3 separate regions of the Homo sapiens genome follow, and all the other regions are linked to region 3. Evidence: promoter capture Hi-C in 16 types of primary human blood cells and fetal thymus (Javierre and others, 2016). All regions are on one chromosome and are shown on one strand. The core of a region is centred on a gene start or on the middle of the fragment in contact, and the rest is flanking DNA. Distances in the headings are between cores, read along the strand shown. Region 1 holds the start of GOT1-DT (GOT1 divergent transcript). Region 2 holds the start of SLC25A28-DT (SLC25A28 divergent transcript). Region 3 holds the start of TCTN3 (tectonic family member 3).

Evidence for each region. Contacts are between HindIII fragments. The CHiCAGO score rates a contact against its expected background, and 5 or more counts as called.
Region 1: the fragment with the promoter of GOT1-DT here is called in contact with the fragment with the promoter of TCTN3 in region 3 in 1 of 17 cell types (total CD8 T cells); the score reaches 7.2 in total CD8 T cells.
Region 2: the fragment with the promoter of SLC25A28-DT here is called in contact with the fragment with the promoter of TCTN3 in region 3 in 1 of 17 cell types (total CD4 T cells); the score reaches 5.9 in total CD4 T cells.

What each region holds. Positions count from the first base shown.
Region 1 is chr10:99,429,391-99,432,351 of GRCh38, reverse strand. GOT1-DT (GOT1 divergent transcript) reads right to left here and starts at 1,416. Exons shown (of 5, transcript NR_183993.1): 1 at 1,087-1,416. It overlaps GOT1 (glutamic-oxaloacetic transaminase 1), which reads left to right and starts at 1,728. Exons shown (of 9, transcript NM_002079.3): 1 at 1,728-1,904. The coding sequence starts at 1,787. RefSeq lists enhancers at 1,148-1,577, 1,758-1,807, 1,828-1,887. The HindIII fragment of the contact is 5,235 bases long and covers 1-1,643 here.
Region 2 is chr10:99,619,374-99,622,160 of GRCh38, reverse strand. It overlaps SLC25A28-DT (SLC25A28 divergent transcript), which reads right to left and starts at 1,316. Exons shown (of 1, transcript NR_186534.1): 1 at 243-1,316. It overlaps SLC25A28 (solute carrier family 25 member 28), which reads left to right and starts at 1,722. Exons shown (of 4, transcript NM_031212.4): 1 at 1,722-2,116. The coding sequence starts at 1,826. RefSeq lists enhancers at 166-747, 748-1,330, 1,914-2,496 and silencers at 982-1,141, 1,872-2,031. The HindIII fragment of the contact is 4,603 bases long and covers 1-1,530 here.
Region 3 is chr10:95,692,413-95,695,600 of GRCh38, reverse strand. TCTN3 (tectonic family member 3) reads left to right here and starts at 1,674. Exons shown (of 14, transcript NM_015631.6): 1 at 1,674-1,957; 2 at 2,125-2,248; 3 at 2,563-2,681. The coding sequence starts at 1,702. It also overlaps a transcript of ENTPD1 not described here. RefSeq lists enhancers at 714-1,215, 1,690-1,969. The HindIII fragment of the contact is 4,584 bases long and covers 1-2,943 here.

The sequences.
Region 1 (2,961 bases), core at 167-2,666, 3.7 Mb before region 3:
ATTCACAATCGTAAAGACATGGCATCAACCTAAATGCCCATCACCAGTAGACTGAAGAAAATACGGTACATATACACCATGGACTACTATGCAGCCATAAAAAAGAAAGAGATCATGTCCTTTGTAGCAACATGGATGGAGCTGGAGGCCTTTATCCTAAGTGAACTAATGCGGAAGAGAAAACCAAATACTGCATGTTCTGACTTGTAAGTGGGAGCTAAACATTGAGAACACATGGACACAAAGAAGAGAACAACAGACACTGGGACCTACTTGAGGCTAGAGGGTGGGAGGAGGGAGAGGATCAGAAAAAATACCTGTCAAGTACTATGCTTACTATCTGGGTGACAAAATAATTTGTACAACAAACCCACATGACAAGCAATTTATCTATAAAACAAACCTGTGCATGTATCCCGAACCTAAAATAAAAGTAAAAAAAAAAAAAAAAGCAGTTTACCATCTATGAAGGGTGTGGCAGATATGCAATGTTAATAATAGCTGACATTTAGAGAGTCCTTCTTACATGCAACTAACCACTTCGTAAATGTATTAACTCACAAACTCCCCACACCAACTCTGAGGAAAATACTATTATTTCCACAGAGCAGGAACTTCCACAGAGAGGTTAAAATAACTTGACTAAACCTGCCCAAATTCGTAAGCGGCAGCCAGAATCTAAACCTAGATAGTCCGGTCCCGGAGATAGGTTTTTAACCACAAAGGCATTTTCTAAAATTGTGAAAGTACAGAAGCACAGGAAAGAGACATTTTGGCCAGATAAGGGTTAAGGGAAGGCTTCATGGATGAAGTGGCATTCGCTCTGGGTCTTGAAGGTCAGCAGATGGAGAGGGCTCCTGGGGAGGAAGGACTCTAACGGGGAAGGAACAGCCTGACGAAGAGGAACTTTGGGTACCAGCCAGCTGACGACAGCAAGATCTGGTCCGGTGCGCGCGGGAGGAAGCTGGGAAGGGACGTCGCGCCCAGATCCCGAGGTCCTTGAGGACCAGGCCCTCTCTGCAAGGAATCGGGGAGGAAAATCTCAAACTATTAATAGAAGAGCGGCAAAAAGGAATTCGTGCGCACCCCTCTCTGTTGGAAGGACCTTCCCTGCCAGAGACCAAGGCTGGCAGGACAGGTATACTTCCCTCAGGGGGAAACAGCCGACAAAGGTGGTCAAGGTCGCCCGCGCAGGCTCCGGAGCTGCACGTCCTGGACGAACACTCCCGTCCCGAGCACAGACGCTGGGTATTTGGCTGCCAGCCCGGGCCCGCCAGGCCGGGCCTGGCACCGCCAACACCTGCTCGGCGGGAACAGGAAGACCTGTGTTCGGGAACTCCCTCCGGCCACCTCCCCGTATCCTCCTGGCCCTCGAAGGTCGAAAGGTGGCCTCTCAGGGACACCCGCCGCTCGCTCGGCTCCTCCCCTCAGCCGGGAGACCCAAGGAATAACAGCCTCTGCGATAGGAGCACGCTCTACCAATCAACCGTAGTCTTCGCCCACGCCTCAGCCGGAGGAAATTGCATTGGTTGCATCATTCTCGGCAGCCGATAAATTGTTTTCTTGGATTGGCTAATAGCGTTCCTTCTCCCCTGTGCCTTCGTCGTCAGAAGCTGGCGATTGGTTAATCGCGTTGCCAAGCTTTGGACGCGGCTCGACCATTGGAGGCCGCGGGCCCGCCCCCGCCGGCTAGGTGAAGGTGAGTGTCTCCTCCAGTCGCAACGGCCAGACCTGACCTGCCAGCTCCGGGCGTGGGGTGAAATCTCTTGATTCCTAGTCTCTCGATATGGCACCTCCGTCAGTCTTTGCCGAGGTTCCGCAGGCCCAGCCTGTCCTGGTCTTCAAGCTCACTGCCGACTTCAGGGAGGATCCGGACCCCCGCAAGGTCAACCTGGGAGTGGGAGGTAAGGATGTAGTGCTCTGGAGTGTGAGCAGCTCGGGGAGTGGAGCGGACCCAACCCAGGTCGTGGAGACTGTGGGAGAAGCCGAGGCCCAGTGTGGCGCTGCCTGAAGAGGGCGGCGCCGGAGAGGAGGCTGGATCCACGAAGGCTTCCTAAAACCTGCCCATTTTACAGATGCAGGTGTGGAGTCCCTGGAAAGGGGCGATGTGTCCGAGGCCGCACAAACCAGGTGTAGCAGCCAAGACACAAACTCAGTCTTTCCGATTCCCCATTCTGCCTTCTTTATACTGCATCCTCCTAAGAAATGAGGCTGCCGGAGCTTGTAGAGAGAGGTAGAAAAATAGGAAGCCTGATAGGCTTAGGGTTCTGGTTGCTAGGAAATGGGTAAAGGAGAACTTTTAACGCTAGAAAGCTCTGTTCTGAGTCGGTAAATATTTGAGTGACCACCGAGTATCAATCAGCCACCTTATTAAGCTTTGTAGGGGGAGACTGAGGCTTGATTTTGCCCTTAAGGATTTAAAAATCTGCTGGTGTTACACAATGCTTTGAGACAGGTTAATGCTGCCCCCGGGGGGTCTGGGGAGATGGTTCTGGCCGTCACAGATGTGGTAGGAATGGGTAGAGATGGTGGAAAGGAGTGGAGAGAAGTATGGATGGTAGAAGCTTACTTTCCACACATCCTATCTTCATTTCTTGATTCAAGTGATTCTCTTCTGTACCTTGGACAGCTCAGAGCATGGGCCTCAGTTTCCCCATCTGCCAAGAAGATTTATATTGGAGTGCCTCTCAAATTTTTTACCCCTAACCCTCTCTGATGAATTTGTTATTCTTCTCACTATCATTTGGATGTTTGAAGCCCCACAGACACTTATTTTCTCCATTTGGATTTTGCCACGTGCAAAGACCAGCCAGAGAGATGAAAATGGGTAGGATAAAGTCTTATGCTAGGTAATAGACTTAGAATAAAAGGACTAGAAATTGTGGAAAGAGAAGGTGGAATCATTTTGTAGCAGAGTGTGACATGAAGGACGCTCAGAATCAGGTTTCTCATAGATAACGT
Region 2 (2,787 bases), core at 67-2,566, 3.9 Mb before region 3:
TATTTTGTAGAGACGGGGTTTTGCCATGTTGTCCAGGCTGGTCTCGAACTCCTGAGCTCAATAAATCGTCCCACCTCGGCCTTCACAGTGTTGGGGTCACAGGCATGAGCCACTGCGCCGGCCAGGGAGAGGTTAACCAGGTTAATGGACCCCTAGGGTGTCCACATGGCACCTTCAGGGACTCTGAAACGCAGAAATGATATGCAAAATTTTGAGTGCACACAGGGGATGGGAGGTGGAAGTAGGAGAAGAGAATTCGTAGTTTTATTATTTTCCAAACGGTCGCGACCTAAAGGTTAATAACAACTGCTGAAGAGAGTAGAAAAAGTTTTTAAAAAGGAAGCCCAGAGAAGAGCTAAACTTTAGAAAGAAAAAAGGAAAACATCTTTCCTATCCAAGGAAAACCTATGAACAGATGGAGAAGTCCACAGTTGCATCATCTGGGTAAAACAGAGAAGACAGAGCTGGAAACCGCGGGCAGCTTGTGCCAACACGCTCGGGGAAGGCAAATGGAAGAAGACGCCCGTGCTCCCTAGAGCAGGAGGTCCTAAGGCCGGGAATCGCTGGCCTTGCCTCTCAGGACCCGGGCTGACCCGAGGGAGGGAGAAGCCCTCATCGCCAGGCGGGGGACCCATCAGCGCGCCGGCTCAGGGACAAAATACTGATGCTTCAGACTCGGCCAGGCCGTGCGTCCGAGCTTCCCCACAGCCGCCGCACTTCCCTGCTGCCTTTGGGATGCGGCCTCCAGCCCCGCCTCGCCACCGGCCGTCATCTGTGAATCATCCCGCCCATTTCGACATCTTCCTCCCCCGCCTTCGGCTCTTGGCCTGGCGCAGAGCCCAGTGACAGCCGGGGCCCGGGGAACCTCATTCATTCAACACTTGTTGGGTTTACTCTGCGAATGTGGATGCGAGGCTCAGTGCCGGGCGCTGGGGCCTGAGGAGCACCGAGTCCGGCCAGAGGGCCCAATACTCCAGACCCGACCAGAGTCTAGCGGGCCGCCGCGGTCCCCCCTGGAGGTGAGGCGGTTCCCAGCCCGCATGTCGCAACGGCTTCCCGGACAGGCTGCGGGTCGCGCCAGCCAGGGATGACCGGCCCAGGCCGGCCCCGCCTCACGCCCGCGACGAGATCCCGCGGGAACACGGCTCTCCGGGGCCAGGGCCGCCCGCTCTCCAGCCACGCGTCTCAGAATTTGAGGAGCGCACGGGAGCGCGGGTCGTAACGGCGCCCGTCAGCAGTTTGACGTTGAAGGCCTGTCGCCGCCCCGCCCCCGACGCGATCCCGCGCACAGGGACCGCAGCTCTGCAGGCGCTAGTGAGGGGCCCGAAGTCGGCCCCTAGAGTCCCTGGGCGCGTCGCTCTTTCTGTAGCCAATCGGGGACCGACGTGGTGCGGGCCAATGGCCGCGGTCAAAGTATCAAGAGTGGTTGAGCCTATCAAAGTTCAGCCTTAAGTTTCTCCCGCCCTTCTAAAAGTCAGAGGCGGGTTGATCGCACATGTCGGCCAATCAGTGACCAATAAACAAGAAGCTTCTAAGATCAAAGGGGAAAAGGTGGGATGTAGGCGCTAGCAACGCCTCAGGGCGGAGGAATGACAGGCGACTTCGCTAATACTACCGGCTGATTTTTCGTACGTAAGGAAAGGGGTGGGTCTAACTTGGCGTCTCCACCAATGGTTGCTTGGGGGGCGTGTCCGCGGGGCCAAGCGGGAGCCGGAGGCCCCGGGCTCTCTGGGCCGCGCCTGAGGCGGACACTACGGGGCCGGGGGGCGGCGGCGGCAGTGGTGGCAGCGGCGGCGGGGGTGGGCGCCGCAGCTGGCCCGGGTGGATGGAGTTGGAGGGGCGGGGTGCTGGCGGTGTGGCGGGGGGGCCGGCGGCAGGGCCCGGGCGGAGCCCCGGGGAGTCGGCGCTGCTGGACGGGTGGCTGCAGCGGGGCGTGGGCCGGGGGGCCGGCGGCGGGGAGGCCGGGGCCTGCAGGCCCCCGGTACGACAAGATCCGGACTCCGGCCCGGACTACGAGGCGCTGCCGGCTGGAGCCACTGTCACCACGCACATGGTGGCAGGCGCCGTGGCAGGGATCCTGGAGCACTGCGTGATGTACCCCATCGACTGCGTCAAGGTGAGACCTGCACCCGGCTTCGAACCCGACCTGGGGCTGACCCGACCCCTGGGTCTTGTCCGGAGCCAGGATCCCGGCTGAGAGCCGGAGCCGACATGGGTTCCTTCCTGGCTCCTGCCACTACCACATGATTCGAACCGACACTCCATTCAAGCAAGGTCCCAGCTGGGAGTTGATCCCAGTCAGGAACCAGGACCTATTTCTAACCGTCAGTGAAATCTGAATCGGGACTCAGGATCGAAAATCTGTCAGCCAAAGCCCTGGACCCCACCTGGGACTAAACAGGAATAGGGTGGGATGGGGTATCCCGAAGCTCAGGTAAGTGCTACTAACTCGATTAAGGTGAAGCCAACTGGCGTGAACCAGACCCTGAAATGGATCTAACGGCTTGAGATGTTTTCTGGGCTAGTGCTTTTACAAACTCCTTGCTGTATCTTCCCTTACTGACGGGGCAGGAACCCGAATCTGGGATCTCTCAGCTAGATAAAGGACTTACATGTTAAATCTTAACACATGAGTGATTGGAAATCATTGTGCAGTGAGAATGCAGAATTCCAGACTGGAAGTAATGTGGGAAAGATCGTATTCAGGAATAGGTTTCAGTTTCTCTGTGAAGCAAGCATGATACCCCACCTATTTCCTGAACATGAAAATTGAGCTGGGATTAGGAC
Region 3 (3,188 bases), core at 425-2,924:
ACACAACAACATAAAAACATATTTGAAAATATTTATAACACAGAGAGACTTTTAGCTACTGACTTCAAAACATTAGAAAATAAAGATCTTGTAAGAGAATTCAAGTAAAGTCAAATGTCCTAAAACTTACCTGAGTTAAATGATTCACTTGTAAAGGGAGGTGTTGACCAGATTTTAGGTAAGTGTACTAGATTTTAGATAACTCTTAACAGATGTTAATTTATATACTAAAACTAAATATCCAAAATAATCCAGATGTCAGAACCGTGGACATAGGAAAATACTGGGTCTAGGAGGAGCAATATTTTGATCATCTACAGTCCCACTGTACAATATGGTAGCTACTCACGTCTGTGGTTAACTTTGAATTAATTACAATTTAAAAATTAAAAATTCAGGCCAGGCACAGCGACTCACAGCTGTAATCCCAGCACTTTAGGAGGCCAAGGCGGGAGGGTCACTTGAGGTCAGGAATTCGAGACCAGCCTGGACAACATGGTGAAACCCCATCTCTACTAAAAATAAAAATAAAATTAGCCGGGCGTGGTGGCGCGTGCCTGTCATCCCAGCTACTCAGGAGGCTGAAACAGAAGAATCACCTGAATCCTAGAGGCAGAGGTTGCAGTGAGCTGAGATCACACCACTGCACTCCAGCCTGAGCGACAGAGCGAAACACCGTCTCAAAAAAAAAAAAAAAAAAAAAAATCAGCTCCTCAGTCACGCTAGCCACATTTCAAGCGCACAATTGCCACATAAGGCCGGTGACTACCATGCTGGACAGTGCAGCTACGGTACATTTCCAATACCGAAGGAAAGTCCCATGGCCCGCGCTGCTGTGGGGAATCGGAAGAGGCACGCCATTCCCGGGAAGAACAAAAACCTCCTAGAGAGGCTTAAAAAATTTGCCATTAACACGGGGAAAAAAATCTTCTATTTCCATTCCTCCATCTTATTTTCTCACCTCCTAGACAATGTTTCTTTTTTTTATTCTTTCTCTCCCTATTTTCTCACATTTTTCCTGCCCTTTTTTCTTATTTTTCTCTCACTGCTTTTTCTAACAACAAACATGCAGTCCATCTTTAATGATTTGATGCATTTCTTTAGGGTTTTCAAAATTTCTCAATGTTAAAATGTAAGGAGCTGAATGAACATTATTTCTAATGTGTTTTTTTTTTTTTTAAAAAAGCCATATTTAGAGGAGACTGTTTTTTAAGGTATGTGACCTTAGGTGTGTTTCCCCCACCTGAGAACATTATTCTTCCATAGAAAGGGTTTCTCACCGTTGGAATCCGGGGTGAAAAAAAATTTGCAATTCTAGTTCCGGCCTCTGGGGTTTCCTTGCACCGGAGGCCGGGCTCAGTCCTCTGGGCCGCGAAGTGGGCGCGGAACCTCTCGGTCCGCCGAACTCCTACCGCCACCTAGCGGAAGGAAGGCGCAAGGGCTTCTTCGTCACTGACGGTTGCCAGGCAACGGAGGCACGGCCCGGCCCGCGTTAAGGAGGAGGGCGCAGACCGAAGGACACTGAAAGAGCTGTAACAACCCCACTTTCGATTGGTTGAAGAGCTCTCAGCCTTCTCATGAGCCAATGAGAAGAGGCACGCGGATGGCGTCAGACGCTATGCGACTCCTCCCACCCACGCTCTGGCAATGCGATTGGAGACCGCGGAGGCCTACGTCGGACCCGGAGGCCCTGAATGCCCCATGCGCACCCCACAGCTCGCGCTCCTGCAAGTGTTCTTTCTGGTGTTCCCCGATGGCGTCCGGCCTCAGCCCTCTTCCTCCCCATCAGGGGCAGTGCCCACGTCTTTGGAGCTGCAGCGAGGGACGGATGGCGGAACCCTCCAGTCCCCTTCAGAGGCGACTGCAACTCGCCCGGCCGTGCCTGGACTCCCTACAGTGGTCCCTACTCTCGTGACTCCCTCGGCCCCTGGGAATAGGACTGTGGACCTCTTCCCAGGTGAGGGAAAACGTTGTGGGGGTGGAAACTTACTTCTGAGATCTAAAATTCTGTGAGCAAAGTTGAGCTGCCACAAAGCAGGAGTGGGGCTGTCGGAAGAAGGAGGGTGAGCACCTGGGAGAGTTTGGGGATCTTCATCCCACTCACTCTGTGTCGTACTTTCATAGTCTTACCGATCTGTGTCTGTGACTTGACTCCTGGAGCCTGCGATATAAATTGCTGCTGCGACAGGGACTGCTATCTTCTCCATCCGAGGACAGTTTTCTCCTTCTGCCTTCCAGGCAGCGTAAGGTGAGCTTCGTTGCTCAGACTGAATCCTAAAGGGGTTTGGGGCCTACAACGGGTAACATTTGGATGTAAGAAGAGTTAGTCTTTGTGCCTCCCACCCGTACTTCCACTCCTAGGACATTCCCTTGGTTTTTCCTAGGAATTGCCTTTTCTGATTCTCTAGAGCAGGGCTGGCCAGTAGAATAAGACCTTCGTGTCGTCCTATAGGTGCCCAAGGAGTCCTCTTTGGCATCATCTGGCCGATATTGCTGGGACACTCTTTTTTGGACCTGCCCCGCCCCTTCTAAATATATCTTCTCCCTCCTCTTTCCTCACAGGTCTTCAAGCTGGGTTTGTGTAGACAACTCTGTTATCTTCAGGAGTAATTCCCCGTTTCCTTCAAGAGTTTTCATGGATTCTAATGGAATCAGGCAGTTTTGTGTCCATGTGAACAACTGTGAGTAGAAACATGTTGGTTGTTCTCATTTTCTAACACAGGAGTGTTATATTTTGTCTTCCCTGGCCCACATTGGAAGAAGAATTGTCTTGGGCCACACGTAAAATACACTAACGATAGCTGATGAGTTAAAAACAACAACAAAAAAAAAGCAAAAAAAATGTCAAATGTTTTAAGAAAGTTTACAAATTTGTGTTGTTGGGCTGCATTCATAAGCCGTCCTGGGCTGCATGCGGCCGGTGGGTTGCAGGTTGGACAAGCTTGGTCTAACATTTATTGAGAATTGGCTTTTATTCTGGCCTTTTTTCCATTTCTTTTTTTTAAACTTTTTTTTTTTTTGTCCTTTGAATCTCTACGCCTCTTTCTGCCTCTTCTCTCTTATTACGGAATACATTTGCATTTTTGTTTTTTTTTGAGACGGAGCCTCCACCTATCGCCAGGAGTGCAGTGCAGTGGCACGATCTCAGCTCACTGCAACCTCCACCTCCCGGATTAAAGTGATTCTCC